Linked DNA regions of Homo sapiens: regions 1 and 3 are each linked to region 2. The links are contacts of gene promoters, found by promoter capture Hi-C in blood cells and fetal thymus (Javierre and others, 2016). All regions are on one chromosome and are shown on one strand. The core of a region is centred on a gene start or on the middle of the fragment in contact, and the rest is flanking DNA. Distances in the headings are between cores, read along the strand shown. Region 1 overlaps ALPK1 (alpha kinase 1). Region 2 holds the start of NEUROG2 (neurogenin 2). Region 3 overlaps ALPK1 (alpha kinase 1).

Region 1 (3,358 bases), core at 111-2,610, 150 kb after region 2:
GGGACTGGAGAGGTAAATACGGGCTGTGCAGGCCTATGTGTGCCTGGTAAAAAATTGTATCTTCACCTTAAGAGTGCTAGGAAACTACTGGTAGCAGGAGGACCAGGGTCAGATGTGCATTTGGAAAAAATCACTCTGTTTTAGCTGTAGTGCGTACGTTAGGGTGGGGGTTTGCCGGGAGGTAACTGCAGGAAGATCAGTTAGGTATAATTGCAAAAATTCACGTGGAAAGTATCAGGACTTTCGACCAGAGCGATAGTATTAGAGATGTAGAAAACTGGACAGAATTGAGAGCTGTCTGGGGAATAAATGCAATATTGGTATTGGATAGATATGAATGTTATTAAGAATGAGTATCAGTTTCTCCTTCACCATAGCTCAAAACTGAGTGGACAATGTTACCATGTTTTGAGACAAGAAGCGTAGAAGAGATCTTCCAGGAAAAGACATAAATGCATCTATTCTGTATTTCTACATATAAAAGTAAGTTAGATAAATCATATCATCCACAATAAGAAACCATATTTTAGCCAAGACAACATTTCTAAAAAGAAGAAGAGATTTCCAAGGTAATTCATGTTTAGTACTTGCAATTCCCCAGAAATGTACTGAAGACATTCTTCATACTTTTTGAAAGTCACAGCATTTTCCCTTTTCTCTGTAGAATTCAGAGGAGACAATAGGAAGAAAATACTGTAACATGAGAAACGCTTTGGAATCCAACCATCTGTCCAGACTTGTATGGCTCATTGTTAGGCATAACAGAGGCTGGAGCCCAGGAACTTTCCTTCAGGCAACAGTCCTGCTGGAAATTTTGGTCAACTTCATTTATAAAGGAATCATTTTCAATCTCAACACATATCAGTTTTTCCTCCCCTGAACTGTGGCATTCTGTGAGCTGTATATTGTTTTTACATTTAAACAATGGGAATTCCCCAGTATGTTTGGTAATCAATGAATTACTTTTTCTCTTTTAACATCCCTCCCCTGTATTTTTTTTTTCCTTAAAAATCAAATAGAAAGGGTCCAGGAAAAGCAATCAGACCATAAAAACAGATAATTCTGGAATAAATACCCAAAAAAGTTAGAGTGATACACTTTAAGGCACATGTGCACACTCACAGCTAAGGGGTCATGTGTTTATACATGCTGTATGTGATTTTGATATACAAATTCTTCAGTTCTATTGGTAACTTAGAATTTAGTTGAGTGGCTTAGTTATGGGATAATTGACAAATCAGCTATTATAAAAAGTAACCAAACCAGTGGATTATTCAAAGCTCCATTTCTTTTAGCATCTGTGTTTGAGTCTTTTTCACTGGACAATTAGTACCCCTATTAGGGAATATGTCAAGGAAAATAAAATGACTCCAGAGATATTCCATTGTCTACTGGTTGCCACTGCTATTATAACCCACTAGCCAACTAGTCAGAATCCCCAAGCTAGAAGATGTGGAGAAAGGTAAAGAAATATGAGCGATGATCTTTACTGTCAAGGAATTTACAATATAATTAGAAGGATAAGATGCAAATATACTAAAAGGTAAACTAGATAAATATACAGGGCATATAATACACAATTGTACTCTGCAAGCTCAATTTAAATTATCTATGTTGGAATTCAATTAACCCTTGGTTAGATTCATAAGCAAGCCCACAGAGCCTATTTAATTCATATGTACATGAATAATTATTATAAAACAAATTTTCTTTTCTTTTTCTTTTTGAGACCGAGTATCACTCTGTCACCCAGGCTGGAGTGGAGTGGTGCAATCTCGGCTCACTGCAACCCTCTGCCTCCTGGGTTCAAGCGATTCTTGTGCCTCAGCCTCTGAGTAGCTGGGATTACAGGCATGCACCACCATGCCCAGCTAATCTAAAACGTCTTTTTAATCTACACTCATTTCTCATATTGTTTCTATAGGAAAAGGTATTCTGGTCTCTAATGTACAACAAGAATACATTTCTCTAATCAGGCACCAAGCAATGACAATCCAGCTGTTCCCACCATTTCACTCTTCTCTGAGCACCCATAGACATAAACTATCACCATATTGCCTCTTGCACTGATTGGCAGTAGAAGTGGGGAAACAAATGGAGAAAGAGGCAGCTGACTGGAGAGTAAGGCAAGTGTGGGGCTCAGAAAGATATTATTGGGTAACAGGCATTTGTCAGCATTTTAAAACTGCATTAAAAGGGAGAAGGCAACTTCTAAGTCACCAAAAACATAAAAAAGTAGACTTCTATTTCTAGCATTGAGGAAGACTATCTAACACTCCCACTGAAAACAATAAAAAATGCTGCAAAAACATTTTAAATCTCTAAAATATGTCAATAAAATGTCAAGAGAGGAAGCAGTACTCAGAAAACAAAAAAAGAAGTAAAGGCTGAAACCTAAAAAGTTACCTGCAATATAGAAGCTAGCCGTTGCCTTGATTGTATTTGCCAAACTGTGAACTTAAAACTGGTTTCACTGTCTTGTAAGGTGAGAGGGGAGAAAATGAAACCAAAGGCCTTAACTGAGGTAGGAATTTAAGTGGAGACTGCACACCCCATGCATAAAACTGAGATCCTAAAAGGTCGCACCTTCAGTATAAGAGTGAGCTAAAAAATAAATCCTCATCCTCTCCCCTCACCTCCCAGGAAAATTGTCTGTGGCAAAACATGCTGCTTGATGGAGGGGAACAAAAATTTTTCCCTTGAGAATTTGAAGCCACAAAGTCCATAACACCTCTAGCTAATGATTAATTTAAAATAAATTATTCAAAATGATTAGGTTAGTAGTGTTCCCAGTCAACTGGTGTGACTAAATATAATCCTTTCTTTAAAAAATTAACCTCAATCCAAGCTTCAAAGAATTCCCACCCATAAAATACTAAGACGCATGAGCTCCTGATCAAATGTCACAAAATACATAAGGCAAAAAGAAATCATGAATGAAAGCAGAAACAACAGATACTAAAATCAGACCCACAAAGACTTTAGATAATGGAGTTAACAGATATAGACTATAAAATATATGTTTAATATGTTTAAGGAACTGAATTAATGTGTTGAAAATATTAATAAACAGCATAAGCTATAGAGAAAGCATAAGCAGATTAAGAATAAGAATTTCTAGAAATAAAAATATAAAAATTAAAAATTAAAAATTCAATGAATGCATAGATTCGATAAAAATATTCACTCTAGGTGGGGATCAGTGGCTCATGCCTGTAATCCCAGTACTTTGGGAGGTGGAGGTGGGTGGATCACTTGAGGTCAGGAGTTCGAGAGCAGCCTGGCCAACATGGCAAGACCCTGTCTCTACTAAAAATACAAAAATTAGCCAGGCGTGGTGGTGCGCGTGGTGGTGCAA
Region 2 (3,098 bases), core at 256-2,755:
CAGCATTCTCTTTCCCTTCTACTCTTCCACTCCTAACACTCCAACTGTGCCTTGCCTAAAGTTAATTTGCAAAGGGGATCTCAAGGGACGCCACTCCGGTCTACTGAAGTCCGGATCCATCCCCATGTCGACAAGAGGGTGGGCATGAACGTGGGGAAAGTGGGGAGGGCTAACGAGCAATTGAGAACAAGTTTCCCCCGAGGTCCAGTAGCCCTTCAGCTCTTTTTTCTCATTGAAAAGCAGAATTGGGAAGATGGGCCCCTTGTCCCTACAACGCCCCCCAGCGCGGAGCAGAGGTCACAGAAATGTCAGCGCAGCGCATTTGCTTGCAGGAGCAGCAGCTCTGCCGCTCCTCCCGCTCGGTTCGCTGCCACCCACGCAGGAAGCCTCCTTGCTGTCCCTCCAGGCTATAAACTGGGTTAACCCCAGCAAAACCTGCATCAGTGCCCGGAGCCTCAGTTTCCTGTATGTAAAATGAGGGGGATCCTTTCAGCTCTAACATGTGAGTGATTTCATTCTCACATCCTCTAAAAGCTCATCAACTGCTCCCCTATCCGACCTCCCCTCCCAAGAGACGCCTGTTTGAATCCCCAGTGTCCTCTCCCTTCACTCTCCCACGCCAGTTTCGACGGACCCCAAACACACTTGTTCACGAGGTGTCCACATCTCTCCATCCACGCCATTCTCCTCCCCTAACCAAATGAATCCATTTTAAAATCGTTTACTATTTGATACAACCCCTAAGAGGCTTTGCCAAGAGACGCCCGGCAGCACCACAGGGCTAACTGCTTTCCCCGGGATTCTGACCCCCATTAACTAATTCCTAGTTCCCATCACCCGGGAGTTAGGAGGGCCGGCAGCGCCGGGTGCGGTGCCTGCGCGCGCGCCGGGCGGGGGGAGCCTCGGCGGCAGCGAGGACGAAGGCGGGGGCGGTAGCACGGGTCCCCCCATCCGCCCCCAGCGCTCGGGCCCCTAATGAGCTGCTGAAAGGGAGCGGGCTCCGGTGCGCGTGGCTCGCAGGCCTCCCGGAGTCCAGGGCGCCCTGATTGGCCAGCTGCGCCTCGCGACCTCCATTCATTAATAAATTAGCGGCACGCTCCAGCCGAGCGCGAGCCACCAATCACAATGGACAGCGGCGGCGACAACAGCCGCAGCTTGAGCCTCTGCGGCCGCTGCGGCTTCGCCAGCTCCGGCCGCAGCCCGGAGCTCCAACAGGAGCTTTAGAACCATTTTATGTTGATTAGATAAAGGGGGAAAAGAGAGGCGGGGGTGGTGGGAGGAGGAGGATGGATGGCAGGGCCAAGGGAGGGGGAAAGGCGGTGAAGAAAGAGGAAGAAATGAATGATGATAATGCAATGAAAAGAATAAGCCAGAGGAGGGAAAAGCGGGGGAGAAGGGGGGCAGGACTGACAGGAGGAGGAGGCGGTGGCGGGGGAGGAGGGGGCCCGGGGCAGATCTGATTGTTTTCTTGGTGGTATATAAGGGGTTTTAAGGAGAGTCGTGTGCCAGACACGCAGCCACTGAACCACAAGCAGCTTCGCGTTAACTGGAGTGCCTGGGAGTCGCGTGCCAGGAGCCGCACGGCCAGGGACTGACTGACAGACAGACACGCACCACCACCACAACACACGAGACCCGGGCGGGCCGCCGCCGCCGCCGCCGGGGCTCTTGGCAAACTCGCCGGTCGCAGAGGTCCCCCGCGGAGCTGCGCCACAGTAGCGCCGGGCTTGCAGCTTTCACGCCGGGCGAAGGACCCGGCGCTGCGCTCGCAGCTGCGCGGAGATTCCCGGCACAGGCCAAAGTCACAGCAACGCTGAGGCACAGTTAGAGCCAACTAAGTAAGTATTCGAGCCACCGCTTCCAACTACGCAGGTGGTTTCCCCGCACTCAGTCCAACCACACCCGCACGCCCTCTGCTCCGCGCAGAATCTTTGTCGCGGAGGCCGCAGTCCCTTCTCGGGGAGGGAACGCAGGACCGCCCGCGGAGGGCAGGACCCGGCTGACTGGCAGCAGGGTCACAGCGAGCGCTAGCGGCGCTCCTGACCTTGGTTAGCACTGCCTGGGTTTCTTCCTTCGCCTTCCTGCTCCGCGCCATTCGGAGCTGGTCTTCTCGGGTGCGCGCCGGAGCACGCCCCTGTGACACGAAGATCGCGCCTCTGTTTCTTTCCTTACACCTCACTGCCTTTTTCCCCTTTCTCTCTTCGGTAGGATGTTCGTCAAATCCGAGACCTTGGAGTTGAAGGAGGAAGAGGACGTGTTAGTGCTGCTCGGATCGGCCTCCCCCGCCTTGGCGGCCCTGACCCCGCTGTCATCCAGCGCCGACGAAGAAGAGGAGGAGGAGCCGGGCGCGTCAGGCGGGGCGCGTCGGCAGCGCGGGGCTGAGGCCGGGCAGGGGGCGCGGGGCGGCGTGGCTGCGGGTGCGGAGGGCTGCCGGCCCGCACGGCTGCTGGGTCTGGTACACGATTGCAAACGGCGCCCTTCCCGGGCGCGGGCCGTCTCCCGAGGCGCCAAGACGGCCGAGACGGTGCAGCGCATCAAGAAGACCCGTAGACTGAAGGCCAACAACCGCGAGCGAAACCGCATGCACAACCTCAACGCGGCACTGGACGCGCTGCGCGAGGTGCTCCCCACGTTCCCCGAGGACGCCAAGCTCACCAAGATCGAGACCCTGCGCTTCGCCCACAACTACATCTGGGCACTCACCGAGACCCTGCGCCTGGCGGATCACTGCGGGGGCGGCGGCGGGGGCCTGCCGGGGGCGCTCTTCTCCGAGGCAGTGTTGCTGAGCCCGGGAGGAGCCAGCGCCGCCCTGAGCAGCAGCGGAGACAGCCCCTCGCCCGCCTCCACGTGGAGTTGCACCAACAGCCCCGCGCCGTCCTCCTCCGTGTCCTCCAATTCCACCTCCCCCTACAGCTGCACTTTATCGCCCGCCAGCCCGGCCGGGTCAGACATGGACTATTGGCAGCCCCCACCTCCCGACAAGCACCGCTATGCACCTCACCTCCCCATAGCCAGGGATTGTATCTAGAGCTGCCATTTCTGCTACCCACGCCAGGCCTTAGTGGGTTCCCTTTCCTGTCCCCAGTCGAGCCCTCCTC
Region 3 (3,366 bases), core at 133-2,632, 170 kb after region 2:
TGGGGAGAAATTAAAGATGTAAATTAGTCAAGGTTGGCTATGGACTATTAAATGTTGAAGCTACATAAGAGTACATGAAGTTTTTACATTGCTCCCTCTACTTTTGTAACAACATATTCGAAATTTTTAATAATAAAAAATTTAAAAATTCTCTTTTGAGGACCCCAACAAAAAGGAATGGTCTTGATGAATTTTGAGAGGCAGCAAGAGACCGTTCTGAAATTATTTGAAATCTCCTCTTCCCTGGTTTAGATAACCAACAAAATTGGGCTTCGGCCTCCCTAATATGACCACTACTCTGCAAAATGAAGCTACTGCTTTATCCAATTCTGTAATTAAGTCCAGATTATGCATATTTGGAGTATCTGCTTACTGTGTTGCCAACAACACATTGTATTTTTAATCAGGGCCCCATTCCACCCACATCCACATCATGTAATGCTTCTAGGTTACTGTGCCTCATTGTCCTGTTAGTATGTACTTAGAAATCACAGCTGAACTTTAATATTATCTTAAGCAAAATACAAACAAAAAGTTAAATGTGGTGCAAAAATAATCATACCATATACTTCAAAGCCATTAGTATGGGTAAATGAGCACTGTCTATAAAAACACGAGAAGCACGCCCCCTATTAACACTGTCTTGGGAAATCAGAGGCTACAACTCTGAATGAGCATGGCAGCCATGCCTACTTTTACCGAAACCAACACACTTCTATTATTCTACTTTCTACAGAATTAAAAAATTAAACAGCTGACAACAAAAATTCTAAACAGTGGGAAAGAAAATCTCCAACTTCATTGATCTTTAAACATTTTTTAAATACGAAAAAGTAGTCTGGTGAGTTGAATGCTTAGAGGTTTTGAACCAAATTAACTAACATTTTAAATCTGTAATTTGCTGTCACAGGTACCACCAAAAGACAAGGTGGAGAGGGAAAATTGCTATTGGTTAAATACTTTCTGTACTTTAGGTGCTATGCTGTGCACCTCAGACACAAAACTTTGTGATATTGGCTTTATGATCCCCACTTTAGAGATGAGAAAGTTGAGGGTCATGGAGGTTAAGTAACTTTCCCAAGGTCACATACTAAACAAGGTGTGTATTCAGAATTTCCAGGAGTCTTTGACCCCATGAATGCTTTTAAAACCATTTGCCTTCCAGCCTACTTACACAGTCCTGAATATTTCAAAATGTATCAATACATTGAAAGATGTAACCCAAGTCCTTTTTAATGCTCTTAGACTTCCAATAAGATAATTCTATGAATTATTTTCTATGTATATATCACATATGTCTTCTTCCAATTTACTGATGAATCAATTTCTACCTAGCCTGATCCAAATTATCAAACTCCATACTTTAACTATACTAGAAAGAGACAGACAAAAAGTCAGAAGTCTAATTCAACTGTTCAGTCCCACTATTTTCACATTGGAAAGATCATTGCTTACAACTGAGCTCTCCCTAGACTTCCACTCGCAGCAGTTCAGGCTGGAACGTGCTCTCCTGTCACACTGTCTTCTCCAAGTGCGAGGGAGTTTTGTCTAGTAAGAGATAATTAAAGACATGGCAGTGCCACTTGCTAGGATTTCACTCTTTCTCTTTTACTTCTTATAAAAGAAGAAACTTCAGTTTAAAGATTAGATTTTTTCCCCGCTTTTCTAAAGCTGGGTATACCAACTGGCATCGGCTGTATTAAAATCAGGAGAAACCTCAATCAAAAAGCCTCTCTCGGAAGGCAGGCTTTCTTGTTAATATGCACCAACATGAAAGGCTTTCTTTTCATCCTATACAACTACAGTGTGTGTAAATTGCAGGGGGCTCATTGGCATAAATCTCGCCTGCGACCTCTGAGGTAAACTGGATTTACATTACTTTCTGACAAGAATTAAATGAAGGCCTTGTGGATATATGAACAGCCTTCTAGGCTGCAACAGATGGGCATGAATGTGCTCCCTAGGAAAACTATCAGTGACATCTGTGTCCTCCAAATTCTGGTGGTCTCAGCCAATTAACGGGGGTAGGGGGGAGAAGGGGGGGAAAGGGTGGGGGTTGGGAGGCCACAGCACAACCCCCAGCCAAAACCCAGGCAGAAGTGTTTGTGTTTGGAGATGGGATCAGGCTGGCCTGCAGCAGCGAGGTTAGCACTTTATTGTTATCATTCAAATGGAGAATGTGGCTTACAAGCTATTTGTATACCACAGCGAGGATAATATGATTTTTCTCATTTGACCGGAGGAGATGGCCCTCTCTTGCAGCTGATATCATATTTCAGTGCATTCTCTTTGAGACGGGTATTTACTTTTGTCTCTTCCGAGGCAGGCTGAGGGTGTTGCTGTCTGCCAGTTTCTGTAGTGCATTCACTAGTCACAAAGCAGGTGAACTCTAAGACGACACAGAGATCTTTCCCCAAAACACTCTCCTTCATAGTCTACTTCTTTCTTTCTTCAAAATGGCATTTACTGATTTCACCAAAAATTAAAAAATAATCAAAATCAAGGTTTTCTAGTTAAAACGAAGTCAAGAGAAATGACATCAGATATCTTGAATGAAGTGGTGGAGGAGTCCTTCAAAGGATACGATGAACCGTGAACCCCACTGTCTGAATTTACCAGGTCTCAGCACGTCAGTCCCTGTGTGTTTAATGTGCAGGCAGGAGGAAAACTGGAGAAGCCAGGACAGAAGATAAGATTCCTCTCTGGCCCCTCTCCTTTGCTGCAATCTCTTGGCCCACTTGCTTGGACTGTGTAGGGCAGGAGACCAGGACTGGGGAGCTGAAGGGATGGAAGGGGAGAGAAGAACTAACATTTACTTGTTCTGTACCAGGAGGAATCAGGAGAAGCGTATGTAGGTATTCCAGGTCCCATGTATTCTGGGCCCCAGCAATAAGAGCAGAGGCTTTGGATCTAAAGTACCCAAGTCTGAATTCTAGCTCTAACATTTACTGGAATATGAGAGAATGGGCAAGTTGCTTAATGTCTTTGTGTCTCACTTTCTCATCTGTAAAATTGAGCTAACAATTGTATCTACTTCTTAGTAAGGATAAAAGTACATGACATATAGAAAATGCTGGCTGTTTTTATCCAGAATTTACTGTGGATTGAAGGTCCATGGATAGAGTCCTAGACCTCTAAACTAGTTAGGCAAAATGAAAGGCATTGTGTTATACTAGCTTTTGAAAATTCAGAAAAGTGATTTTTCAAAAGAAGCAATTGTCATTGCTTTTAGGAGCCTGAGGTCATGCTTTAAAATTACATATTTTCTTTAATATATAAGATTTTGAAATTCTTTGCTAAAATAGTAAATATCAAAAGCATCTAGATCATTCTAAATTATAAAGTAGACTATCAAGAGGCAAGTAA

The links. Contacts are between HindIII fragments. The CHiCAGO score rates a contact against its expected background, and 5 or more counts as called.
Region 1: a contact is called between a fragment that was not itself captured here and the fragment with the promoter of NEUROG2 in region 2, in 1 of 17 cell types (activated CD4 T cells). The highest score is 5.7, in activated CD4 T cells.
Region 3: a contact is called between a fragment that was not itself captured here and the fragment with the promoter of NEUROG2 in region 2, in 11 of 17 cell types (fetal thymus, megakaryocytes, activated CD4 T cells and 8 more). The highest score is 7.1, in fetal thymus.

Annotation. Positions count from the first base shown.
Region 1 is chr4:112,368,051-112,371,408 of GRCh38, reverse strand. All of the region lies in intron 2 of ALPK1 (alpha kinase 1), which reads right to left. Among named protein-coding and RNA genes, the nearest start is that of ALPK1, 72 kb to the right of the region's middle. The HindIII fragment of the contact is 2,981 bases long and covers 1-2,850 here.
Region 2 is chr4:112,514,587-112,517,684 of GRCh38, reverse strand. NEUROG2 (neurogenin 2) reads left to right here and starts at 1,505. Exons shown (of 2, transcript NM_024019.4): 1 at 1,505-1,838; 2 at 2,209-3,098. The coding sequence starts at 2,210. The coding sequence ends at 3,028. NEUROG2-AS1 (NEUROG2 and ZGRF1 antisense RNA 1) reads right to left here and starts at 2,306. Exons shown (of 4, transcript NR_161159.1): 1 at 2,045-2,306. LOC124900760 (a long non-coding RNA gene) reads right to left here and starts at 880. Exons shown (of 2, transcript XR_007058231.1): 1 at 646-880. RefSeq lists enhancers at 284-403, 504-603, 1-734 and silencers at 744-1,023, 2,344-2,413, 2,674-2,873. The HindIII fragment of the contact is 11,776 bases long and covers 1-3,098 here.
Region 3 is chr4:112,342,424-112,345,789 of GRCh38, reverse strand. The region is part of intron 2 of ALPK1 (alpha kinase 1); the gene reads right to left. Among named protein-coding and RNA genes, the nearest start is that of ALPK1, 47 kb to the right of the region's middle. The HindIII fragment of the contact is 4,801 bases long and covers 1-3,366 here.